7 separate regions of the Homo sapiens genome follow, and regions 1, 2, 3, 5, 6 and 7 are each linked to region 4. Evidence: promoter capture Hi-C in human tissues and cell types (Jung and others, 2019). All regions are on one chromosome and are shown on one strand. The core of a region is centred on a gene start or on the middle of the fragment in contact, and the rest is flanking DNA. Distances in the headings are between cores, read along the strand shown.

Region 1 (3,927 bases), core at 374-2,873, 430 kb after region 4:
TATCTGTGTGCTTACTTAAAAGCTCCAGAGTAGAAACCTCTCCCACCAGATTGCCTTGAGAGACAATAGTCAATTTACAACCAAAAGTATGCCTGCCAGGAAACTCTGCCCCACCTGGAGAGTATCTCGAGACAAGGCCACTTTACAACCTAGTTCTGCCCAAGATGGTGGCAGCTCGACCAGGCGGTAGATAAGGCACCAAAGTGAGTCATGGAGACTCCCACCTGCTCATTCCCTCCTCTGCATGCCATTTATGCCAATTCCCCCTCCCGCTTTTTTTTTTTTTTTTTTTTTTTTTTTTGAGACAGAGTCTTGCTCTGTCGTTCAGGCTGGAGTGCAGTGGCACAATCTTGGCTGACTGCAACCTCTGCCTCCCGGGTTCAAGTGATCCTCCCACCTCAGCCTCCCGAGTAGCTGGGATTATAGGTGCCCACCACCTCACCCGGCTAATTTTTTTGTATTTTTAGTAGGGATGGGGTTTCACCACATTGGCCAGGCTGGACCAGACCTTGCTTCTGTTAATTGGATGCTACAAATGGAGAGCAAGTGTACCTGACATTTAGCTACACTGCTTTCTTAAAAAAAAAAAAAAAAAAAAGGCCCTGGCCAGGAGTGGTGGTTTATGCCTGTAATCCCGGCACTTTGGGAGGCTGAGGTGGGTGGATCACTTGAGGTCAGGAGCTTGAGACCAGCCTGGGCAACGTGGTGAAAGCCTGTCTTTACTAAAAATACAAAAATCAGCCGGGCATGGTGGCACACGCCTGTAATCCTAGCTACTTGGGCGGCTGAGGCAGGAGAATCACTTGAATTTGGGAGGCAGAGGTTGCAGTGAGCTGAGATTGGGCCACTGCACTCCATCCTGGGAACAAAGTGAGACAGTGTCTCAAAAAACAAAAAAGCCCTATCTTTGCAGGACAGGTGAGCCCCCAAATTGAGACTTAGCTTAGGAGAGTTCTTGGCTTTGCCCAAGGAAGGAATTCAAGGGTGAGCCAGTGGTGTTAGACAGCAATCTTTTATTGAATAGTGCTTCTCCTTGTGGGGCAGGGCTAACTCATGGGCAATGAATCCGGAGTCGATACCCAGTGTATGAGATGTTGGCAACTGTATTTATGCTCATCTCTAATCCCTTCTCAGCCTTTTGGCTGAGATCAAGTGTAGTATACGCATTCCTACCCACTTTCAATCACATGCAAATTAAGGGGCAGGCTAATGCAAATTAAGGGGCAGGTTAATGCAAATTAAGGAGTGGGTTTTTAGAGTTTTCTAGGAAAGAGGTAGCAACTTCCTGGTCATTGCCAAGACATTTGTACACTGTCATGGCACTGGTAGGAGTGTCTTATGTTAATGAGGGATGGGGACAGCTAGGGGGTCCTAGATCCTGTTTTGGTCAGCAGGGTTGTGCCATTCTCCTGTCTCACCAGGACTCTGGCAGCCATTTAGCTACTTTGAGCCCCAGTCTCCTATGTATGGAGTTGAGTAAAAGTTTGGGTGGTTGTGAGGATTAGCTGAGATAATGCCTGTGAGTATCCCATAAATGTTAGACTCCCACATTCCAATCCCTGTGTCCCCTGCCTCCAGAATCTTTCATTGTGACCTTAGGAGATTCTGAGAATGATTTTTCTCAGAGCAGGGCTTCCAGTAGCTGATGGTATGGTAGGAGGAGTGGAGTGGAGCTCTTGCCTTGTTACTGAGGAAATCTATTTGTTTCTAGTATTACTGGATTTTTGGGGAAAAATTTGTAGTCCTCCCCTTGAAAGGCAAAGGGGCTAGTTGTGCCATTTGCCTGCACAGGAACCATGAGGAGACATATGGTAACTTATGCCTGGCAGCTCCTGAAGAAGGAACTGGTGAGGAGGGGCAAGGGCCCTGGGAGGGAAGAGCAGAAGACTGAACAGACAGGTGTTTTGAGGAAGGTCGATGCAGGTGTAGGAGGGGTCTTGGATGAATGGTGGCCATCCTGTACCTTTTGGAGTCACAGCATGGCACAAAGGAGGGACCCCTGCCCTGTAGCCTACCAGCCCCCCACACTGGGCAAGCCATAAGCCACACTCAGAGCCACTGAGTCCTGTTCTGTACCCACTCTTCCTGCTATTATGAGATCCAGAGAGAACGAGGGAGGATAGAGTCAGGGTAGCAACATTGAGTCATAGGTTAAGCTTGTGAACTCTGGAGCCAGACTACCTAGGTTTAAATCCCTATCACCTATTAGTCATGTGACCCCAGGCAAGTTGCTTGGTTTGCTGTGCCTTTATTTTCTCCTCTGTAAAGTGAGATGATAATACTAGTACCTACTGCATAAATTTACTGATTAAATGATTTACATATCAGAATAGTGCTTTGGATAATGCCTGACAATAGTAAATTGTACTCAGTAAGTATTAATTTTATTCATAAAGTACCTTTCCCCATATTTCCATAGATATCTAATTTTTAAGAAATAGAACATTACAGGTGTAGGGAAAGCTCTTTACCATCCCATGCCCCTTTATTTCTCTTTAATAGTAACCACTTTCCTGAAGTTGGTGTCACCCTTCCTGTTTATATTTTTATATATTATCACATGTGTATGTATCCATAAACAATATATAGTATGTGGCACACTGTTTAAAAATGATACCATAAATAGCATCATAGTTCTTTTTTCCCACTCAAAATCATTTCAGCTTTATCCACATTGACACACACAGACTTAGTGCTGTGTTCAATCCTGTGACTGAACCATAATGTATTGATCCCTTCGATCCCTACTAATGAACATTTGTTTTCAGCCATTCACTGTTACACACAATGTTGCCATGATTACCCTCATGGCTATCCCCTTGTACATGTATGTTTCTCTGAAGAGGACATATAAAGTACATACAATTCTTCCATTGTGAAGTACACACATCCTCAACTTTATATAATGTTGCCAAATTGCTCTTCAACATGGTTGTACCATGTTTCCCAGTTCCCAGTGATAAGTGCAAAATAGTATCATGTTATTACTTTAATTTCCATTTCCATTATTTCTAGCAATGTTAAAAATGGTTTCACAATTTGGCTGGGGCATGAAGGCTCATGCCTGTAATCCCAGCACTTTGGGAGGCTGAGGTGGAAGGATCACTTGAAGCCAGAGTTGGAAACCAGCCTGGGCAACAAAGTGAAACCCCCTCTTTACAAACAATGTAAATATAAATACAAATGAATAAAAACAATATTTTCACAATTTATAGGTAATTTGAACTTTCCCTTTGAATTACCTTTGCTCATTTTGCTATTGGGTTATTTGTATTTTTCTTTTGATTTGTAGGATTACAAAAAATAAATTTTGGATCGTAATCCTTTGTTGATTATATGCATAGTAAGTATATTTTTCCAGTCTGTAGTTCGTTGTCTCACTTTGTTTATGATACACTTTAAAAAGAACATTCTCTTTTTTCCTTTGTTTGTTTTTATTTATTTTTTTGAGACAGAGTCTCACTCTGTTGCCCAGGCTGGAGTGCAGTGGCGCAATTTCAGCTCACTGCAACCTCCACCTCCCAGGTTCAAGTGCTCCTGGTGCCTCAGCCTCCTGAGTAGCTGGGATTACAGGCGCCCACCACCACGCCCGGCTAATTTTTGTTTTTTTTAGTGCAGATGGGATTTCACCATGTTGGCCAGACTAGTCTCAAACTCCTGGTCTCAAGTGATCAGCCCACCTTGGCCTCCCAAAGTGCTAGGATTGCAGGCATGAGCCATTGTGCCAGAGCTGTTTGTTTGTTTGTTTGTTTCATTTTGTTGTTGTTGTTACAGGGTCTTGCTCTGTTACCCAGGTTGGAGTGCAGTGGCACGATCATAGCTCATTGCAACCTTGAACTCCTGGGCTCAAGCAATCCTTCTGCCTCGGCCTCCCGAGTAGCTGGGACTACAGGCGAGTGCCACTGTGCCTAGCTAACGATGTACTTT
Region 2 (3,714 bases), core at 134-2,633, 400 kb after region 4:
GGCCTGAACCCCCTTCTTTGGCCTCACAGATGACCTCTTGTGTGTCTTGCTAATTCAGAGCCACATATTCTGTACATTTCTAAGACTCTAGGCCCTGAGAGAGATAACAAGAAAGCATTAAAATAAATGATAAAGCTTAAAGATTTTATTTAGGTAAACAGACTTTTGCATAGTATTTAAGATTAATCAAAATCCCTTTTTATGGAATCAACTCTTTATTTAAACACCAAGATAAACTAAGCTTTCTTTCTTTCTTTTTTTTTTGAGATGGAGTCTCGCTCTGTTGCCCGGGCTGGAGTGCAGTGGTGCCATCTCAGCTCACTGCAAGCTCCGCCTCCCGGGTTCACGCCATTCTCCTGCCTCAGCCTCCCGCGTAGCTGGGACTACAGGTGCCCGCCACCAGGCCCGGCTAATTTTTTATATTTTTAGTAGAGACAGGGTTTCACTGTGTTAGCCAGGATGGTCTCGATCTCCTGACCTCATGATCCGCCCACCTTGGCCTCCCAAAGTGCTGGGATTATAGACGTGAGCCACCGTACCCAGCCCTAAACTAAGCTTTCATAACCAAGTTTTAAAATAGGAATTTGGATGTAACATTCCTTTTTTAAAAAGCCGGCCTGCTTAGCTGGGTGTGGTGGTGCACACGTATAATCCTAGCTACTTGGGAGGCTGAAGCAGCAGAATCTAGGAGGCGGAGGTTGCAGTGAGCTGAGATCATATCACTGCACTCCAGACTGGGCAACAGAGTGAGACTCAGTCTGAAAATAAAAAATTTAAAAAAATTTAAAAGCTGACCTGGCGTGGTGGCTCACACTTGTAATCCCAGTGCTTTGGGAGGCCAAGGAGTTCAAGGTTACAGTGAGCTATGATCGTGTCACTGTACTCCAGCCTGGGTGACAGAGCAAGACCCCATTTCTTTAAAAAAAAAAAAAAAAAAGCCTAGTAAGCTATTATATGAAATATATATATATATATGCCATTGTTTTACAATTGGCCATTATTTAATTATTTATGTAGTTATATGAATAGTACTTTATTTATTTATTTATTTATTTATTTTTGAGACGGAGTCTCGGTCTGTTGCCCAGGCTGGAGTGCAGTGGCACGATCTCGGCTCACCACAACCTCCACCTCCTGGCTTCAAGCAATTCTCCTGCTTCAGCCTCCCGAGTAGCTGGGATTATAGGTGCACACCGCCATGCCTGGCTAATTTTTGTATTTTTAATAGAGACGGGGTTTCACTATGTTGGCCAGGCTGGTCTCGATCTCCTGACCTCATGATCTGCCTGCCTCGGGCTCCCAAAGTGCTGGGATTACAGGTGTGAGCCACTGCACCCAGCCTGAACAGTACTTTAAAACTAAAAGACAAAGGATATTTAATGACCATGAAAAGTAAAAAAGTCTTTTGGCATTAGAGAGATTATTTTCTTAAATAAAAAATGTTGCCTTGGTGAGCAGTGGTCTCTATACACATGATCTTAGTGTATTTGAACAGAATTTTTTCCTCTGTAACCTTCTGTCTTGCTAGCAACCACTATGCTAGTTGGAAGCTGTTCTGCATCTTTAAAAGAGACACTTGGGATGGTGCAGCACATGGTATGGAGAGGGTGGCCTGCTGGATGCTGGGGTCCAGAGGAGATGCTGTTGACTTCCCACAGTCCTGGCTTTGTTCTTCAGCCTAACAGACCTAGACAGACAGCTTCCATCTCAGGAACTCCACACACTCCTGTTAACCAAGCTCAGGCACTACTGAGTGGCTTAGACTCTTCCAGTCTGAGCGTTGGTGCGCTTTCACACTGTGCATGCCTCCTGGGCCACCGTAGTATCGGGATGTCTTTGGTGAGCCTGGAACTAGATCCAAGGTAGTTAGGGTGACCTTAAGAGGGGCCTCTCAGCAACTGTAGGATCATCTTGCAAAAGATTGACTGACTCTCTTTGCTGTTGGAGTGACCCATCCAGTCCTGACTGCCTTTTGTCCATTTATTTATTTTTATTTTATTTTATTTTTTTAAGACGGAGTCTTGCTCTTTCTCGCCCAGGCTGGAGTACAGTGGCATGATCTCGGCTTACTGAAGCCTCTGCCTCCCAGGTTTAAGCGACTCTTCCTTCCTCAGCCTCCCAAGTAGCAGGCAGATGCCTGCCACCACACCTGGCTGATTTTGTATTTTTAATAGAGATGGGGTTTCACCATGTTGGCCAGGCTTGTCTTGAATTTCTGACCTCAGGTGATCCACCTCCCTTGACCTCCCAAGGTGTTGGGATTACAGGCGTGCACGTCCGGCCTCTCCATTTATTCTTCTGCCTGTTTGCTGAACAGTCCCCTGTCTCCTTCTAGTTTTTTTTAAAGACTTACTGGTGTTTTGAAACTGGTCACTATCCAGTTTTCTTGCTCAGCAGGCCACTAGTTCCTCTCACATGACTGATCTTTTACTAATGGTTTTCAAGCTTAAGTCTGAGGAGGTGGTCTTATTTTTCTTATTTCCAAGTCCTTGTACTTGCTGGAATTAGGAAGAGAGAGGGTTCCTCCTTCTTGGAACCCCCAAATACCAACAAGAAATATGATGGAGGAGGATAAACTACATAGGGCCCAGAGCAATGGGTAGGGCGCTTTGCTGGACCACACATTCCTTCTCTCGCTGTGTTTGTTGCAGGCTTGCCACATTTCAGACACAGGTGAGTGTTAGGGATATAGTGGCAAGCAAGGCAGACTCAGCCTTTGCCCTCGTGGAACTTGATCTAGTGGGAGAGACATATATTAAACAAATCATCCCATTACCTGTAATGACAAACCATAGTAAATGCTCAAAGGAGAACATGTGATATCATAGCACCTGTAACACAAGGACCAGATTCAGGGTATAGGGTTGGGGAAGGCTTCCCTAAAGAATAGCTCACAAGAAACAGAGGATTTAGAAAGGTGGAGAGGAAGGTAGGGCTGCATCTGAGGACAGGAGAGGATTGCGCAGTAGGTTGCAGGCTGCTTGATGAAGAGGTACTGGGTGGGCCTTTCTTTTGCTGCACTCCAGGGTCCAGAAGGTGCTCAGTACAGGTTGGTGCATGGACTAGAAAGGCTACAGGCAGGCTGGGATAGCACAGGGGCTACCTGCAGGGGGTGGTTCTTGTCAAAGGTGCAGGGTTCCCAGATGGTCTCTCCCCAAATGCCAGAGCTTTAGGGGGTAGCTTAGGGAAGAACAAACATCTTTCTGTAGAGAAATACTTGTTCTCACAAGCAAGACAGCTTTCTAGATATTGAACCAATGATGATAATGTTAATTAATACCTGAAATCTTACATTAAATATTTAAAGGGGTCCTGCATGGTGGTTCATGCCTGTAATCCTAGCACTTTCAAAGTGGCCAAGGCAGGTGGATCACCTGAGGTCAGGAGTTCGAGGCCAGCCTGGCCAACATGATGAAACCCCATCTCTACTAAAAATAACAAAAATTAGCCAGGCGTGGTGGTGTGTGCCTGTAATACCATCTCCTCAGGAGGCTGAGGCAGGAGAATCGCCTGTACCCGGGAGGCGGAGGTTGCAGTGAGTCGAGATCATTGCCATTGTACTCCAGCCCAGGCAACAAGAGCGAAACTCTGTCTCAAAAGAAAAAAAAAGGCCAGGCCCAGTGGCTCATGCCTGTAATCCTAGCAGTTTGGGAGGCCGAGGTGGGTGGATCACCTGAGGTCAGGAGTTTGAGACCAAAATACAAAAATTCGCCG
Region 3 (3,975 bases), core at 610-3,109, 380 kb after region 4:
TTACAGTTGAGAAGTGAAACAAGAAAAATTTGTTTTTGAAACATAATAGTACCATCTAGCCTGGCTGACCAACCCTTCCCCAGCACCACCAGTGGACATGCGCATGTACATACACACATACATACCCACACTTTAGGCTGAGGGAGAGTCTTGTCTTTTTGAATAGCCTTCATAGTAACCTCTGGGATTCAAGGGTACCTGATATTTAAGACCTTTATTAAACCTTGGTTCAGTGGTTTTCAAACATTTTTGAATATCAGAACCCCTTTTCCTAATGGACTGTTTCATAGAACCCCAAAATGTGTAACAGGTAACAGCAATAGTTTTGAAAGTTCAAAATGGATAATCTTTACTTGTGAGGTCGGACATGTGAATGGTGGGCATATTCCCATGATTCTAATATGCTGTCAGAATTATGAGTGACAGACAGTTGCTGACTTGGAGCACTTCAGTGGCTCATTTGTTTTTCTCTATTTGGTTATACAACAGTGAGACAAGCGTGATGCACATGGCCATTGTCAGGGTGACTTTTCCTGAACAGCATGCTGTGTAGTTACTTTGATTAATCAGAGATGGGAGGACAAGCTCCGTTTTGAGGTCAACATAATACTGAGCTATCCTAGCAATACAAAATTATGTGTGGTGGCGGGCTTCATTGTCTTAACATATGGCTTGGAACATGTTTGAGTGTGCATCTTTTTTTTTTTAATTGTCCTACCTTAAAAACACACACATTTTGCAGACTCTCTGAAGCCCTGTGGACTACTATTAGATAATTGTTGGTTGGGCATGCTGTAATCCCAGAATTTTGGGAGGCAGAGGCGGGAGGATTGCTTGAGCCCAGGAGTTCGAGACCAGCCCTGGAAACATAGCAAGATCCTACCTCTACAAAAAAATTAAAAAATTAGCTGGGCATGGTGATGCATGCCAGCAGACCCAACTACTCCAGAGACTGAAGTAGGATGATCACTTGAGCCTGGGAGTTCAAGGCTGCAGCGAGCCCTGGTTATTCTGTTGCACTCCAGCCTGGGTGACAGAATGAGACCCTGTCCCCACCCTCCCCCCCAAAAAAAAGAAAAGAAAAAAAATGTTATATAACATGAAGACTATCATTTTTTAGTAGATTTTTTTTAAGTTTGTTTTTAAAAGGATGTTGAAGATCTTTAGTTTCTACTCTGTCATCCTTGAGCATATGCTCAGTTCCAGGCCTTGTTAGTCTGACAGATTTGCCCTTTATCTGCCTGTTAAAATCTTCAGTGGGTGAGTAATGAATGTCCCTCCTGGCAGGGCTATTCTGTCTAACAGTATGTAACCCATTTCTGATCCACTCTGGTACTTTCTCTATTGACTTTTCTATAAGTAGCAAGGATCTTGGTGTGTTTGAGGGTAGAGGTTAATATGCCATTATGTGCTATATGAAGAAACTAATTTCGGGGCAATTGGGGCCACCATGAGCATGGCAGAGTCAGGAGCCAACTTGATCTCCTGCTTCCCAGGCTCCACAAGACCTTGTGTCTCAAGCTCACTTCAGAGCTTCTTGGCTTTTGTTCCAGAGGACTTTTCTGTGCTGTCCACCTGAACCAAGAGTGCCCACCTGGCTTTGTGTTAAGGAGGGACGGTTTCTGACTGTCCTGTCACTGTGAGCAACGTACCTTTTCTACTCAATAACTTTATCAAAAGGCATAAGTTTAGAGGGAGCTAGCTAGAACAAATACAGTTTAAACTTTTAAAATGTATTCACCATCTAATTAGGAAGACAGGAATAAATTTTTCTTAAATCTTTACCTTAAATTGATATTTTGAATAACCCTAGAATACATTTAGAGTGTGTTTTCTAGAAGTGCATGTATTACTATAGAGAAATAACTTTTTGGATCATTGTCATTATATGAGTAGTATCAACATTGTTCATGTATATCACTATTTTATCTTATTTACCAGTGCTAATTTAAATCACTGGAAGGTTAAAATCCTACTTAATAAATACGGTATTTGAGAAATCTGGCTACCACATAAAAATGAACAGGAAATACATTTGATATTTAAATTATTTTAATCGCTGTAGAGCATGTTTTGTTAAGCTTTTTCTTAAATGGCTAGATAATAAATTTTTAGGTTTTGAGGGCCATATGGCCTTGTTGCACCTACTGGATTCTTCTTTGAGCAGCTGTAGGCAATATGTAAAACAAATTTTCACCTGTATGGTTGGCTGCAGTGGCTCACATCTGTAATACTAGCACTTTGGGAGGCTGAGGTGGGCAGATCACTTTAGGCCAGGAGTTCAAGACCAGCCTGGGCAACGTGGCAAACCCTGTCTCTACAAAAAATACAAAAATTAGTTAATTGTGATGGTGCACACTTGTAGTCCCAGCTTCTCAGGAGGCTGAGGTGGGTGGATCACTTAAGCCTGGGCAGTCAAGGCTGCAGGGAGATGAGATTGTACCACTGCACTACAACCTGTTCAATAGAGTGAGACCCTGTCTCAAAAAACAAACAAACAAAAACCCCTAAACAAATGCGTATGGCTGTGTTCACATAATACTTTATTTACAAAACAAGTCAAGCTGGCATTGGCACATGGGCTGTAGTTTGCTGACCTTTGCCCTACAACAACAAGTATTAATATGTATTAAGTGTCCAACTCCAGTAAAGATTTTATAGCAGTTTTAAAAAGAAGCCCATTTTAATGGCCTAGCACTGTGGCTCACACCCGTAATCCTAGCACTTTGGAAGGCTGAAGCGGAAGGATCACTTGAGTCCAGGAGTTCAAAACCAGCTTGGGCAACATAGAGAGACCCCGTTTCTACAAGAAATTAAATAAAAATTAAGTAAATAAAAATTTAAACAAAGAAGCCCATTTGAAAGTTTTGGTTATTTTAAAATTCATATTATTTGTTGGTACCTAATGCACTGACATAATTCAAAGTCCAGAAAGCACACAGAGAAATACCTTATCCCCACCTTATCCCCAACTACCCATTCCGTAGAGTCAGCCCTTATCAGTTTCTTGTATATCCTTCCAGAAACATTCTATGGCTAAACAAACAATAGCAAATGTATTGTTTCCTTTTAAAAATTTTTTGGTAAAATACACATAACATTAAAAGTTACCCTTTTTATTTTTATATTTTCCTATTTTGAGACAGGATCTTGCTTTGTCACCCAGGATGGAGTACAGAGGCACAATCACAGCTCATGGCAGCCTCCAGCTCCTGGGCTCAAGTGATTGTTCCACCTCAGCCTTCTAAGTAGCTGAGACTACATGCACACAACATCACACCTTGCTAATTTCTTTAATTTTTTTTTGTAGAGATGGAATCTTGCTATGTTTTTCAGGCTGGTCTCAAACTCCTGGCCTCAAATGACCCTTCCTCCTCAGCCTCCCAAAGTGCTAGGATTACAGGTGTGAGCCACCCTGCCCTGCCTAAAAGTTACCATTATAACCATTTTTAAGTATGCAAGTCAGTGATGTTAAGTACATTCACATTGCTTTGCAACCATCTCTTTGTCTAAATGCAAATGTTTGCATTTTATGTATAGTATTTTCTTTTCTTTTCTTTTCTTTTTTTTTTTTTTTTGCGATGGAGTTTTGCTCTTGTCGCCCAGGCTGGGGTAGTGCAATGGTGTGATCTCGGCTCACTACAACCTCCACCTCCCAGGTTCAAGTGATTCTCCTGCCTCAGCCTCCCGAGTAGCTGGGATTACAGGCATGCACCACCACGCTTGGCTAATTTTGTATTTTTAGTAGAGGCAGGGTTTCTCCATGTTGGTCAGGCTGGTCTTGAATTCCCGACCTCAGGTGATCCGCCCACCTCGGCCTCCCAAAGTTCTGGAATTACAGGCATAAACCACTGTGCCTGGCCGCATGTATAGTATTTTTAACATCTTTTTTCATTTAGCAATATGTAAATTAAAAACCATTTTATTTTCTGCATAATGGTTGGATCACATTTTATTTTACTTTATTTTATTTTA
Region 4 (3,553 bases), core at 889-3,388:
CCACTTCAGCCTCTGATTTGGTCGCAGGCCAATCCTTCATAGGTGTAGCCAACTGGAGGCTTCTAAAGGGCACCTAGGGGTGTTGCCAGGTCCCTTTAGCTTAATACAAACCCTGATTGAGGAGGCTCTTGAGCAGCTTGCTCTAACCAGCTGCCGCTATGAATCGTCTTCAATAAATCTATGCTTTTGTTATTCCGTTCTTCTGTTGCTGTTTGTCTTTCGTTGCCCTTCTGTTACTTTATGTGTTTTGTTCAACACGCCAAGAACCTGGACAACTCTATGCTGGTAACAACTGCAGGTAACCTGGTAACAACTGCAGTTTCAAACTCTCCTGGGCTCAACCCCAGCCTCCCAGGTAGCTGAGACTATAGACGCATGCCACCACACCTGGCTAATTTTTTTATTTTTATTTTTATTTTTGGAGACAGAATCTCACTCTGTCGCCCAGGCTGGAATGCAATGGCATGATCTCGGCTCACTGCAACCTCCGCCTCCCAGGTTCAAGCGATTCTCCTGCCTCGGACTCACAAGTAGCTGGGTTTACAGGAGCACACTACCACGCCTGGCTAATTTTTGTATTTTTAGTAGAGATGGGGTTTCACCATGTTGACCAGGCTGGTCTCAAACTCCTGAACTCAAGTGATGCTTCCTGGCTCGGCCTCCTGAAGTGCTAGGGTTACAGATGTAGTTTTTAAAGTTTTTGTAGAGTGGGGTCTTGCTGTGTTGCCCAGGCTGGTCTTAGACTCCTGGCCTCATGTGATCCTCCTCGGTCTCCCAAAGTGCTGTGATTACAGGTGTGAGCCATTGTGCCCAGCCCAATTTTTAATTAAAAAATGGAATGATGGAATGCACATTACTTTGCATCTTTTCCCCCTTAAAAATACATTCTTAGTATACCTAAAGGAGTAAATCTACCTCATTCTTTTGAAAAGTGGCCTAATATTCCATAGAATGGGTGTATCGTGATTTATTCAATTTATTTAATGTATCAGTGGGCATTCTGGCTGGTTCCAGATTTTTGCCATTGAACAATCTCATGCATACATCTTTATGATGTGGTGCACTTAAAATCTTTAAGAGACAGATTCAATATCTTAAGGTGTAACAACCACCCAGATCATGGTACTTTTATCCTTATATTAAAATTTTTTTCTGTTAACCTTGGATAGCTGCTTACATATTTTTTCTTTTTCAAAATTTTTCTATTAACCTTGACATGGTGCTTTTACTTCCTAAAGTGGAATTCCTGTATGAAAGCCTATGAGCTTTTATATCTTACTCATTGCAGCTGCATTACTGTGGGAGCTGTCCCTCTAGAGACACTGGGCTGCAATGGGAAGTGTCAGGGAGAGCTTAAGCTCCATATCACTTGAGTCTAAACCTGGAGGGATAGAGCGTGTCCGTGAGGATCCCAGGGCCTGGAGAGCAATTTAGGGTAATATTCAGAAAGCAGCGCTCAGGAGAAGCACTGGGACGCTGTTTAGGTAAAATCAACCCAAAAGACCCTGATTCCCAGAGTACTTTGAGGTCCAGAAGAACTGGGCTGGAAGCAGGTCCTGCTATTAATTGGCTGTGATCTTGGGCAAGTTATTTAACTTCTCCAGGTCACAGTTTGCTCTTTGGAAAACGGAGATAAGTCACACCTGCTTTCAGGGCGGACACCCTTACTTTACATCAGAATCATCCGATGCCATTCCTAGCGTTTCGGCTTCAGTAGGTGGGAATCAATTATTTGCATTTCTAATAGGTAATCAGTTGATAATGATGCGGCCGGTCCGGTACACTCGAAAAACCACTGTTCCAGGATATTCCAAGATGTTCCAAGAGTCTTAAACACCTGGTGCAGTTCCGAGCACAAGGCACACGAACGGTGCTATTAGCGTTTCTAACCCCGCAGAGAACTCCTCGCACCCCAGTCCTCAAAATCCCGCCCCGGACAGCGGAGGCCGGGGCAGTAGCTTCCAGACCCAATTGCCCGCGCAAGGGGGCGTGGCAGCATCGTTGGGCGGGGCCGCCTGTAAGAGAACGCGGCTAAAGGTGGGGCCAAGCGTGCGGTTTGCTGCGCCTGCGTGAGGAAAAAGAGGGGGGCGTGGCTCCAGGCCGGAAGAGGGAGTCTGTAGGGGCGGGCCGGCTGGCGTCCCCTTTCCGGCCGGTCCCCATGGAGGCGCTGGGGAAGCTGAAGCAGTTCGATGCCTACCCCAAGACTTTGGAGGACTTCCGGGTCAAGACCTGCGGGGGCGCCACCGGTAGGCCGCAGCGGGGCCGGGGTCGCGTGGAGGGGGGCGTCCTAGAGCTTAGCCCGGGCTCCTGGACTCTGACTGGCCTGCCGGTGTCTGAGGGAGCGGATTCGAGGCCATTCTGACCCTCGCCCCTTGTCCTGCAGTGACCATTGTCAGTGGCCTTCTCATGCTGCTACTGTTCCTGTCCGAGCTGCAGTATTACCTCACCACGGAGGTAAGGGGCGGGGCTTAGTGCGTGGGCGGGGCTTGGCATTCTAGGAGTAGGACCTTTAGGGGTGGGAGTGGGGAAGGAGAGGTTTGGGGCTAAGTCTTACTGAGGTAGCGCTGCCCCAGGTGCATCCTGAGCTCTACGTGGACAAGTCGCGGGGAGATAAACTGAAGATCAACATCGATGTACTTTTTCCGCACATGCCTTGTGCCTGTGAGTACCTCACCATGGGTGGGACTGGAGAGACCCAGGGTTCTCATGTGGGCTGCCAGATTCACACCTCCACCCTTAGGTTCTGGACTGGACCCCAGGACAACCTCCTTCTCCTCATCCCGTTCTGCCCCAAGACAGGCCCAGTATCCCCTTCCCCTCCAAAACCCACATCCCCTTGTCCCTAGGGTCCCAGTACCTTAGCCTGATTTTCCTGCTTCCAGATCTGAGTATTGATGCCATGGATGTGGCCGGAGAACAGCAGCTGGATGTGGAACACAACCTGTTCAAGCAACGACTAGATAAAGATGGCATCCCCGTGAGCTCAGAGGCTGAGCGGCATGGTAACCAGGGGAGGGGGCCGGGTCTCAGATCCCAAAGCTGGATGTACCCAAGCCTATCTGCTAGCAAGTGAACTGTGGCAGGCATAGTGATACATTAAACAACTAAGAGCTAGAGAAGTCAAGTGACTTGCCTAGGGTCCCCCAGCTAGTAAGAGTCAGAGTGAGCTAAAATCCTCTATACATATCGAGTCAGGTAATCTACCTGGCTATTATTCTCAGAGGTCCTCAATACCTGCAGATGGTAGTTTGAATACCAGAGGTTTGAAGATAGGTCTTATGTGCTCTTGCCTTGGTAGAACTGTCTAGATGGACCCAGGCTTCTTTGAGTGTTTGCTTTCCCAGCCCATTGGCTTAATTCAGCCCTTAATGCTCTTCCCCTTTGGAATGCAGGTGGTTTAATGAGAATTTAGGTTCTCAAGTCAGATTGCCTGGGTTCACATCTAGCTTTGTCTCCTGCAGTCTGTGAGCTTCAGCTAGAAAGTGGTAATAAAACAGTAGTACCAACCACATGGAATTGTAAGATCAAATGAAGTCATATGTGTAAAATGCCT
Region 5 (3,601 bases), core at 1,088-3,587, 300 kb after region 4:
AAGAGCCGTTTTTTTGGTTTGTTTTTGAGACGGGGTCTTGCTCTGTTGCTCAGGCTGGAGTGCAGTGGCTCGATCTCACCTCACTGCAACCTCCATCTCCTGGGTTCAAGCGATTCCCCTGCCTTATCCTCCTGAGTAGCTGGGACTACAGGTGCGTGCCACCACACCTGGCTAATTTTTTGTATTTTTAGTACAGATGGGGTTTCACTGTGTTAGCCATGATGGTCTCGATTTCCTGACCTCGTGATCCGCCTGCCTCGGCCTCTCAAAGTCCTGGCATTACAGGTGTGAGCCACCGCGCCCAGCCGGTTTTTTTTTTTTGGTTTTTTTTTTTTTTGATAATGTTGTCCAGCTTTATTTTTGCTTTCTTGCCAAAGATTTGTCAAGCTCCTCACTCTGTCATTATAAAATTCCCACCCTGAGAATCTCCCATTTTTCTTCACCATCACCACACACACACACACACACACACACACACACACACACACACACACACAGGCTGAAACAATAAAATATAAAGTTCATCCTAAGAAGAAGATATCGAGTCCAAAGAGGGTTATCAACTTTAGAAAAGAAGCAAAGAAATCATAAAATAATGATATTTTAAGATTACAGATTAAGCCCTAATTTAGAATATTTTTAGAAATTTTATCATATTAAAACAAGGGTGAAGGCACTATAGACTCTTGTTTTTTAACTAACTTTATTTAAATTAGCTATACCCATTTTAAGTGTATGATTTCATAAGTTTTGTGTAATAAGCTTAAATTTAATAAGCATTTAAATTTGTGATATAAAAATCACCCATTTTAAACTGTATAGTTTAATAAGTTTTGCAAATTTATATTGTCAGATAGCCACTGCCATATGATACACAATATTTTCATTATGACAAAAAGAAGCTCTCCCTCAAATTGCTTTTCATTCAGTCTTCACCAGCCAGTCCTGGACCAGTTCTGGACCCTGGCTTGCCACTGATCTATCTATTTTCTGTTTATAGTCCTATTTTTGTTTGGTTTTTCATTTGAAATAAAATCATACTGTATGTAACATTTCGGGTCTGACTTACTTCAATTAGCATATCTTTTGAAGCTTCATTTATGGTGTTTTTTTTTTCTGTTCCTGTAATAACAGTTTGTTTTATTTTTTTAATTTTATTTATTAATTTTTTTATTATACTTTAAGTTCTAGGGTACATGTGCACAATGTGCAGGTTTGTTACATATGTATACGTGTGCCATGTTGGTGTGCTGCACCCATTAACTCATCTTTTTTTGTTTTTTTTTAAAGAGACGTTTTCTTGCTCTGTCGCCCAGTCTGAAGTGCAGTGGTGCAGTCTTGGCTTAATGTAGCCTTGACCTCTTGGGCTCAAGCAATCCTCCTTCCTCAGCCTCCTGAGTACCTGGGACTATAGGCATGTACCACTGTGCCTGACTAATTAAAAAATTTTTTTTGTAGAGACAAGGTCTTATTATGTTGCCCAGGCTGGTCTTGAACTCCTGGCCTTAAGGGATCTTTCTGCCAAAGAAGGAAGATCCTTCGTACCTCCCAAAGTCCTGGGATTATAGGCGTGTGCCCTTGTGCCTGGCTAGTTTTAAGGTTTTTAAACAGGCATTGAGACATCTATAATGGTCCTGCTGCTTTTGGATCTGACTCAGACTCAGCCCTGCCTTCTATTTTTCTTTCTTTTTTTTTTTTTTTTTGAGGCAGTCTTACTGTATGGCCGAGGCTGGAGTGCAGTGGCATGATCTTGACTCACTGCAACCTGTCTTTCGGGTTCAAGTGATTCTCGAGTCTTAGCTTTCTGAGTAGCTTGGACTACAGACGCATCCAACCACACCTGGCTAATGTTTGTATTTTTAGTAGAGGTGGGAGTTCATCATGTTGGCCAGACTCCTGGCCTCAGGTGATCCACCTTCCCCAGCCTCCCAAAGTGCTGGGATTACAGGCACGAGCCACTGTGTCCGGCTTATTTTCTGTTTTAACCCTATTAGGGAACTTGAACTATTGCTGGCCTTTTTTTTCTTTTTCCCAATTAAGGATTATTCAGTATTGTTCCATTTGACTTTTCAGTGTTCATTCTACAAATTTTTTTTTTTTTTTGAGACAGAGTCTCACTGTATCACCCAGCCTGGAGTGCAATGGCGCAATCTCGGCTCACTGCAACCTCCACCTCCTGGGTTCAAGTGATTCTCCTGCCTCAGCCATCGAGAAGCTGGGATTACAGGTGGCCGCCACCACACAGGCTAATTTTTGTATTTTTAGTAGAGACGGGGTTTCACCATGTTGGCCAGGCTGATCTCAGGTGATCTGCCCACCTTGACCTCCCAGAGTGCTGGGATTACAGGTGTGAGCCACTGCACCTGGCCCATTGTACAAAATTTATCAGTGCAAACTGTGTGCTGGGAAAAGAGTATAAAATATTAAAGGTGAATGGTTGCTTTCCCTGGCAAAAGACCCTTTAGAAGTGTAGATGGCATTAAATGCTGCTTCCCTGAGTATGAAGTAGCCTCATATCTTCTGACTCCTATACTGGATGTGTATTCTAGTAGTCCTGGCCTCTTAGACTCATTTTCAGAATGTATGCTGGTTAGGGTGGAATTATCATCAGTGCTGTTCTGTGCCTGCCCAGACCTCTTGGGCTTATTGAGGTCTTGTGTCCCAGCCCTTTTGTTTTGACTCCTGTCTTAGTCTTTTCTGTGTTGCTATAATAGAATACCTGAGACTAGGTAATTTATAAAGAAAAGAGGTTTGTTTAGCTCACAATTCTGCAGGCTGGGAAGTTCAAGTGCATGGTACTGGCTTCTGGCATCAGCTTTCATGCTGTGTCATACATGGTGGAAGGTCAAAAAGGGAGACAAGTGTGAAGAGAGGGACCAAACAGAAGGAGACTTGCTTTGTAACAACTTGCTTTCTTGGGAATGAATCCATTCCCAGGAGAGCGAGAAGTCACTCCTGTGAGACAGCATTAATCTATTCATGAGGGATCTGCTACCATGACCCAAACACCTCTCATAGGCCCCATTTTCAACACTGCTGCACTGAAAACGTTTACTTTTGGTGAGGACAAATGACACCGAAATTATAGCAACTCCTAGTGTTGAACAACAGAAATATCTTCCTCCATCTCAACAGCTACTTTCCCTTCACACTTTCTTATCAATCCCAGCTTCTTTTATGAGATCTGGTATGTCCTGTATGTCCTGTGAAATTAGGTTGGTAACAGGATCTTTTTTTTTTTTTTATGTTTTTTAGGAATTTCAAATAAATGAGCAGGTCCTTGCTTGCTGGTCTGATTGTCGTTTTTACCCGGCCAAAGTCACTGCTGTTAACAAGGATGGTAAGGCATTTGAGTTGTAGTTGTTTTTACTCATGACTTAGGTGGTGGGGGGGGATGTTTGTAATATCAGAGCTTGATAGTATATTTTCAGTATTTATTTACTGCCTAGGTATCCGCTTTATTCAAGTTAATCACTATGTCAGGAGTTGGGTAGAAATTATAAGTGTAAAGAAAACTGGACAAAAAAGATAGTTTGACTTTTTACCCCCTGAATTTCAGTCATTGTTTTCTAAAACAGTCACAGTTCATCTGTCACTCTGC
Region 6 (3,802 bases), core at 710-3,209, 350 kb after region 4:
TGCAGTGGGCAATCTTGGCTCACTGCAACCTCCGCCTACCGGGTTCAAGCGATTCACCTGCCTCAGCCTCCTGAGAAGCTGGGATTACAGGCATCCGCCACCACCCCCAGCTAATTTTTTTTGTTTTTTTTTGTTTTTTTGTTTTTTTTAAGCGGGGGACAGTCTCGTTCTTTCGCCCAGTTTCAAGTACAGTGGCGTGATATTGGTTCACTGCAACCTTTGCCTCCCAGGTTCAAGCGATTCTCCTGCTTCAGCCTCCCGAGTAGATGGGACTACAGGCATGCACCACCACGCCTGGCTGATTTTTTTTTTTTTTTTTTTTTTGTATTTTTAGTAGAGACGGGGTTTCACCATGTTGGTCAGGCTGGTCTTGAACTCCCGACCTCAAATGATCTGCCCACCTTGGCCTCCCAAAGTGCTAGGATTACAGGCGTGAGCCACCGCACCCGGCCAATTTTGTATTTTTAGTAGAGATGGGGTTTCACCATGCTGCTCAGGCAGGTCTCGAACTCCTGACCTCAGGTGCTCCACCTGCCTCAGCCTCCCGAAGTGTTGGGATTACAGGCATGAGCCACCACGTCTGGCCTTTTTTGTTATATTATAATTTAACATATCCTAAACATTTTCTCATCATTAAAAAGTTAACATAAACATTTTATTCATATATAATATTTTTATCTACTTTTTTTTCTTTAGAGCTCTACTTCTGGAAGAATCTACTTTTTGATTTGTGGTTCTGAAATTATAGCAAATTGTGTAATTTATCATATTTTATCACAGGCTAGTATGCATTACTGATTCATACCCTGTTTGCAGCTTTTCTCACTCTGATGCTTGTGTTGATTGTTTTTTCCAGCAGTGCAGGGTAGATTATCAACTGGCTTATAATCAGAAGAGCTTGCTTGTATCACAGTGAGTTATACTTCACTGATTTCACTGGGAAATCTTACTTCCTGAGTTTCCATGGTTAAAGATTTGTAATGCTCAAATCTTCTTTTGATGTTTATTCCATCAGAGAAAACAGAAACTACTTTGTCTTAGTGTTGCCAAATTGAAAAGAGCCTTTGGTTTGGCCAGGATCTTTGTGATAGTGGCACCTGGCAGTGTCTTCCCTCCTGAGGAGCATCCGTGCTCACTTGAGCCTCTCTGATCCTAGTACTGCCTGTCAGAGGCAGCTGGTCCACCTGAGTGCCAAGCTGGCGCTCCTTTGGAGTTTCAGCTGTACTAACTTTTGCTTAGCTGTGAGGAATCAAGGATTTTGCTTTTGCAGGGGGAATTTTTAACCTGTAAACTAAACTCGCTTGCTTTGAAAGGTTTACTAGATTGGCAGATTATTAGTCTGATTATTAGTCCAGTCATATCTATCTTTCAACAGATAGTTTGGCCATGACTTTTTTTTTTTTTTGAGATGGAGTTTCGCTCTTGTCACCCAGGTCAATGGTGTGATCTTGGCTCATTGCAACCTCCGCCACCTGGGTTCAAGCAATTCACCTGCCTCAGCCTCCCAGGTAGCTGGGATTACAGGCACACGCCACCACAGCTAGCTAATTTTTGTATTTTTAGTAGAGACGGGGTTTTGCCATGTTGGCCAGGCTTGTCTTGAACTCCTTACCTCAAGTGATTCACCCACCTCGGTCTCCTAAAGTACTAGGATTACAGGCATGAGCCACCACTCCCAGCCGGCCATGGCTTTTTTCTTTTTTTGTTTTCAGACAGAGTTTGGCTCTTGTTGCCCAGGCTGCAGTGCAATGGTGTGATCGCAGCTCATTTCAACCTCCACCTAGCAGGTTCAAGTGATTCTCCTGCCTCAGCCCCCCGAGTAGCTGGGATTACAGGCACCTGCCACCACGCCCAGCTAATTTTTTGTATTTTTAGTAGAGATGGGGTTTCACCATGTTGGCCAGGCTGGTCTTGAACTCCTGACCTCAGGTGATCTGCCTGCCTTGGCTTCCCAAAATGCTGGGATTACAGGCATGAGCCACTGTGCCCCGCCAACATGTACTGTTATTTATGTTTTAAAAAGATAAAACAATGTTCAGTATTTTGGTGGAACAAGCTTGGTACTATCCTGCATTGTATAGAGTATTACAAAAGAAAATCTTTAGGTGTCATAGTAAAAGATGTCCCAAAAGGTGGAGATAATAATCACACTGAAATGTGAATAGTCATACTAGGAACCTTGTGGTTGGTTTTGAATTTCACACTTTCAGGAGGACGTAGACGAAATGAAGTGCTTTCAGGGTGATATGCGTCCCAGCCAGGGCATATGAAGACTGGTTGAAGAAATGTTTCACACTTGGTTGATAATTATAATAGCTGTCTCCAGCCATGTTCCAGAAATAACATAAGCCTGCTTATGATGTATTTTATATTTGAAATGATAATGGCTTCCATGTGTTGATCACCTACTTTGTGCCAAGTACATACATTATCCATAACCTTTTCTCCAAATCTTTGAAATAGGTGGTATTCTTCCCTTAAGAATCTGGATAATTAGACTAGCTTGCACAGCTAATTTATGCTGCTAATGAAAGGTAGACCTGGGATTAAATGTTGTGCTTTTTGTACTATACCATACTGCCTCTGGCATGAGCATGCAGTGAGGCTGTGGGTGGTGGACACTTCCCCTCTTCTGCTTATGATCAGGTTAATTCCTGAAATTTAAAATGACATTGAATAGTCATAGTAGATAATATTGAGCACTTATGTGCCGTACACCTTTCTAAGCTCTTTGCATGTAATTTATTTAATTCTCACAACTCAGCGAAGTTGTTACCATTATCGTCTCCATCCTGCACATGAGGAAACTGAGGCAAGGGGTGTAGGTGGAAGAACTCGGTTTTGAAATAGGCTGTCCAGCTGCAGAACCCACACTTAGCCCCTGTACTGTTTGATTTATGTAGATGACCATTGTGTATACACAAGAGTGCAAGTTTTTGTTTTTGTTTTTGAGACGGAGTCTCACTCTTGTCACCCAGGCTAGAGTGCAATGGCACAATCTCGGCTCACTGCGATCTCGACCTCCTGGTTCAAGTGATTCTCCTGCCTCGGCCTCCTGAGTAAGCTGGATCTACAGGCGCGCACCATGCCCAGCTAATTTTTCTTCTTCTTTTTTTTTTGAGACAAAGTCTCGCTCTGTCGCCCAGGCTGGGGTACAGTGGCGTGATCTTGACCCACTGCAACCTCTGCCTCCTGGGTTCAAGCAATTCTTCCACCTCAGCTTCCCAAGTAGCTGGGACTACAGGCATGTGCCACCATGCCTGGCTAATTTTTATAATTTTATTTGAGACAAGGTTTTACCATGTTGGCCAGGCTGGTCTCAAACTCTTGACCTCAAGTGATCTGCCCACCTCAGCCTCTCAAAGTGCTGGGATTACAGGTGTGAGCCACCGTGCCCCGCTAATTTTTGTATTTTAGTAGAGATGGGGTTTCGCCATGTTGGCCAGGCTGGTCTTGAACTCCTGACTGCAAGTGATCTGCCCGCCTCAGTTTCCCAAAGTGCTGGAATTATAGTCGTGAGCCACTGCACAGGGTTCCAGCCTTAGTCTTTTTTAGCCTACAAAATGGCAAGTTTATATGATTTAACCTAATATAGATCAAGGGAAGGATATTCCAAAATAAACTATTTTTTGTTTTAGGAAAGAATTGGATGTATTAAAGTTTTGTGTTTTGAACTTCTCCACTGACATACTTTTCCTGTCCAATTATTTGTCTGAGAAGTGTGTATTCTGTTTCACATCGTGTCACTTTTGCTTCTCCTTTTTTTTTTTTTTTTTTTTTTGAGACAGAGTTTCACTCTTAT
Region 7 (3,552 bases), core at 163-2,662, 330 kb after region 4:
GCCACCACGCCCAGCTAATTTTTGTATTTTTAGTAGAGACAGGGTCTCTCCGTGTTGACCAGGTTGGCCTCGAACTCCTGACCACAGGTGATCTGCCCACCTCGGCCTCCCAAAGTGCTAGGATTACAGGTGTGAGCCACTATTTCTGGCCTAAATGTAATTGTTGATATGGTTGGTTTTTAGGCTAACATTTGGCTGTGTTTTGTCTGTTTTTTTGTTTTTTTTTTTTTTTTTTTTAAGACAGAGTCTTGCTCTATCGCCCAGGCTGGAGTGCAGTGGTGCGATTTCTGCTCACTGCAACGTCTGCCTCCCGGGTTGAAGCGATTCATCTGCTTCAGCCTCCTGAGTAGCTGGGATTATAGGCACCCACCACCACAATCGGCTAATTTTTGTATTTTTTAGTAGAGACGGGGTTTCACCATGTTGGCCAGGCTGGTTGTCTGTTTATATTATTTGTGTTTTGTTGTTTTGTTTCTTGTTTTTTAGGTTAACTGATTTTTTAAGAATTTCATTTTAATTCATCTGTTAGCTTTTAGCTGTATTTCTAGCATTTTGAAAGAGGTTACTCTATGGATTATGGTATACATCCTTAACTTCTCACAGTTCACTTAGAGTTAATATTTAACCACTTTATGTAAAAATGTTCCATTAACCTCCCCCATGTTGTAGTTGTCACATGAATTATATCTGTATATGCTATAAATTCCTTTTTAAAAAATTTTTTATTTACATATTTTTTTGAGATGGCATTTCACTCTTGTTGCCCAGGTGGAGTGCAATGGCACGATCTTGGCTCACTGCAACCTCCACTTCCCAGATTCAAGTGATTCTCCTGCCTCAGCCTCCCAAGTAGCTGGGATTACAGGCATGTGCCACCACGCCTGGCTAAATTTTTTTTGTATTTTTAGTAGAGATGGGGTTTCACCATGTTGGTCAAGCTGGTCTGGAACTCCTGACGTCAAGTGATCTACCCGCCTTGACTTCCCAAAGTACTGTGATTATAGGCGTGAGCCACCACACCTGGCCTGCTATAAATTTCATAATGTAGTATTATAAGTTTTGCTTTACACAATTATGTATGTTAAAGACGATAAGGCAAAAAGCGACAGTCATATTTACACATGCCTATTTCCAATGTTCTTTATTTCTTCGAAGATTTCTTTTCAGCATGAAGAATTTCCTTCAGATTTTCTTATAGGTTCCTGATGACAAATTCTTCTGGTTTTTGTTAAAACTTGACTTTTTTTTTTTAAAGATAGAGTCTCACTCTGTTTCCCAGGCTGGAGTGCAGTGGCACAATCACAGCTCAGAGCAGCCTGGACCTCCTGGGCTCAAGTGATCCTCCTGTCTCAGTCACTTGAGTAGCTGGGACTACAGGCGTGTGCCACCATGTCCAGCTAATTTTTTTTCTTTTCTCAACTTTTAGTTAAAAAACAAACAAATAAGACTGTGTGTCTATAGAATTGTCTACTTTTTATTTGGATAACTTAAAAAATTTTTTTTTGAATAGTTTTTTTTTTTCTTGGCCAGATGCTATATAGTTAACATAAATGTAGTAGAGCAGCTGTTTGAAAATAGTGAATCTCAGCACTCTGGGAGGTTGAGACTGGAGGGTCACTTGAGGCCAGGAGTTCAAGACTCGCTATATTGAAGGCCTTGCATCAACATAGTGAGACCCTCCCTCTTCAAAAAATAAAAAAATTAGCCTGGCATGATGGTTCATGCCTATAGTCCCAGCTACTTGGGAGGCGGAGGTGGGAGGATCACTTGAACCAGGGAGGTCGAGGCTGCCTTGAGCTGTGATTGTACCACTGCCAGCCTGGGTGACAGAGGAAGACCCTATCTCCTAAAATATTTTAAAAAATTGGCCAGGGGTGGTGGCTCACGCCTGTAATCCCAGCACTCTCGGATGCCTAGGCGGGCAGATCATTTGAGGTCAGGAATTCGAGACCAGCCTGGCCAACATGGTGAAACCCCGTCTCTACTAAAAATACAAAAATTTGCTGGGCTTGGTGGCGCACGCCTGTAGTCCCAGCTACTCTGGAGATTGAGACAGGAGAATTGCTTAAACCCAGAAGGCAGAGGTTGCAGTGAGTTGAGATCGCACCACTGCACTCCAGCCTGGGTGACAGAGTGAGATTCCATCTCAAAAAAGAAAAAAAAAAAATTAAAAGAGTACCGAAGTATTCATTCCTAGCTCATCTCGGCGGCTGTTCTCTTAGTTCTCTGTCTAGCTTCGTCCATAGTGTTGTGCTTCAGCCTCGAGGGCTTGTCGGGGCAAGGGATCTTCCTTTTTTTGCTACTCCTCCTCTTAGTGTCAGGGCTCTTTTCTTCCCAGCCTGCTCTTCTGACATGTGGGGCAAATTACTAAAGTTCATATGTAAATGAGGTGGAAATTTAATCTCGGAATTTAGTTGTCTGTCTTGGCAGGGAGAACTCTAGATGACAGCCACATCCCCTGTGACTCAGCAGACTAAGCTTTTAATTATGTTGTCTTAAGGGTAGTGGTATGTTAGACGTCACTTGAAATTTGTAGTTAATTGTTCCTACACCACTAGGAAACACGCCATGCATATAAGTGAGGAGACTAGATTAGAAGCTAACTCCAGTGCCTTTTGTAAAGTTTACGTATTTTATGGGGTCTTGGGCTATACTTTTTCCCAAAATATACACATACATAATTTCTGTCTTGTGTTAGCTAACCTAATTATGTTTCTGGATTGTGGAGAGGACAGAATCAAGTATAGTAAGGGTGGGACAGGTGAGTCTAGGGGAAAAGGATGATGATGAGATTTCATGTCGTCGTCTGCATCCTTACAAAGGTCTCACAGTAGCCTTTCTAAGGGAATAATTTTGAAACCATTGCAACTGATTGAAGCACTTATCTATTTTCCAAGAGGGTTAATAGTAAGGGTGGAGGTCAAATTACTTTGAGCTTGAGCCAAGAGGAATAAATATAGCATGGAACCCATTACTGTATTTTTTTTTTTGAATGAGGTATTTGCTTTTTGCTTTAGTGACTTAAAAGCCAGAAGAGATGGCCGGGCCTGGTGGCTCATGCCTGTAATCCCAGGACTTTGGGAGGCCGAGGTGGGCAGATCACTTGAGGTCAGGAGTTCGAGACCAGCCTGGCCAACATGGTGAAACCCCATCTCTACCAAAAATACAAAAATTAGCCGGGTATGGTGGCAGGCGCCTGTAATCCTAGCTACTCGGGAGGCTGAGGCAGGAGAGTTGCTTGAACCTGGGAGGTGGAGGTTGCAGTGAGCCGAGATTGCGCCCCTGCACCCAGCTTAGGTGACAGAGCGAGACTCTATCTCAAAAATAAAAAAATTAAAAAGCCAGAGACGAATGCAGTTGTGACTGTTGTAATTGGGCAAGCATTCATTTATGCAGTAAAACAGAAGTTAGTAATTCCCCTAGAAGTTTAGAGGTCTCAGGCTGGGCGTGGTGGCTCACGCCTGTAATTCTAGCACTTTGGGAGGCCAAGACGGGCAGATCACCTGACGTCAGGAGTTAGAGACCAGCCTGGCCAACATGGTGAAACCCCAT

The links. The method cuts DNA at HindIII sites, captures the fragments that hold promoters and counts their contacts. A contact is called where the count stands out against the background at its distance.
Region 1: a contact is called between the fragment with the promoter of CNBD2 here and the fragment with the promoter of ERGIC3 in region 4, in 1 of the 25 tissues and cell types used here (mesendoderm cells).
Region 2: a fragment that was not itself captured here is called in contact with the fragment with the promoter of ERGIC3 in region 4 in 8 of the 25 tissues and cell types used here (aorta, dorsolateral prefrontal cortex, hippocampus and 5 more).
Region 3: a contact is called between a fragment that was not itself captured here and the fragment with the promoter of ERGIC3 in region 4, in 1 of the 25 tissues and cell types used here (spleen).
Region 5: a contact is called between a fragment that was not itself captured here and the fragment with the promoter of ERGIC3 in region 4, in 4 of the 25 tissues and cell types used here (adrenal gland, hippocampus, lymphoblastoid cells and 1 more).
Region 6: a contact is called between a fragment that was not itself captured here and the fragment with the promoter of ERGIC3 in region 4, in 3 of the 25 tissues and cell types used here (liver, lymphoblastoid cells and mesenchymal stem cells).
Region 7: a contact is called between a fragment that was not itself captured here and the fragment with the promoter of ERGIC3 in region 4, in 3 of the 25 tissues and cell types used here (dorsolateral prefrontal cortex, hippocampus and lymphoblastoid cells).

What each region holds. Positions count from the first base shown.
Region 1 is chr20:35,966,967-35,970,893 of GRCh38, forward strand. CNBD2 (cyclic nucleotide binding domain containing 2) reads left to right here and starts at 1,624. Exons shown (of 12, transcript NM_001365709.1): 1 at 1,624-1,847. The coding sequence starts at 1,797. It also overlaps the pseudogene LOC124904982. The HindIII fragment of the contact is 12,223 bases long and covers 1-3,927 here.
Region 2 is chr20:35,942,578-35,946,291 of GRCh38, forward strand. The region is part of intron 17 of PHF20 (PHD finger protein 20); the gene reads left to right. Among named protein-coding and RNA genes, the nearest start is that of SCAND1, 10 kb to the right of the region's middle. The HindIII fragment of the contact is 3,743 bases long and covers 1-3,255 here.
Region 3 is chr20:35,920,631-35,924,605 of GRCh38, forward strand. All of the region lies in intron 13 of PHF20 (PHD finger protein 20), which reads left to right. Among named protein-coding and RNA genes, the nearest start is that of SCAND1, 32 kb to the right of the region's middle. The HindIII fragment of the contact is 7,739 bases long and covers 1-3,975 here.
Region 4 is chr20:35,539,940-35,543,492 of GRCh38, forward strand. It overlaps ERGIC3 (ERGIC and golgi 3), which reads left to right and starts at 2,139. Exons shown (of 13, transcript NM_015966.3): 1 at 2,139-2,246; 2 at 2,384-2,454; 3 at 2,574-2,661; 4 at 2,883-3,002. The coding sequence starts at 2,159. RefSeq lists an enhancer at 1,811-1,900. The HindIII fragment of the contact is 35,337 bases long and covers 1-3,553 here.
Region 5 is chr20:35,844,095-35,847,695 of GRCh38, forward strand. PHF20 (PHD finger protein 20) reads left to right here. Exons shown (of 18, transcript NM_016436.5): 4 at 3,256-3,340. Among named protein-coding and RNA genes, the nearest start is that of PHF20, 74 kb to the left of the region's middle. The HindIII fragment of the contact is 7,233 bases long and covers 1-3,601 here.
Region 6 is chr20:35,891,923-35,895,724 of GRCh38, forward strand. All of the region lies in intron 9 of PHF20 (PHD finger protein 20), which reads left to right. Among named protein-coding and RNA genes, the nearest start is that of SCAND1, 61 kb to the right of the region's middle. The HindIII fragment of the contact is 6,428 bases long and covers 1-3,802 here.
Region 7 is chr20:35,873,250-35,876,801 of GRCh38, forward strand. All of the region lies in intron 9 of PHF20 (PHD finger protein 20), which reads left to right. Among named protein-coding and RNA genes, the nearest start is that of SCAND1, 79 kb to the right of the region's middle. RefSeq lists an enhancer at 2,180-2,739. The HindIII fragment of the contact is 5,621 bases long and covers 1-3,552 here.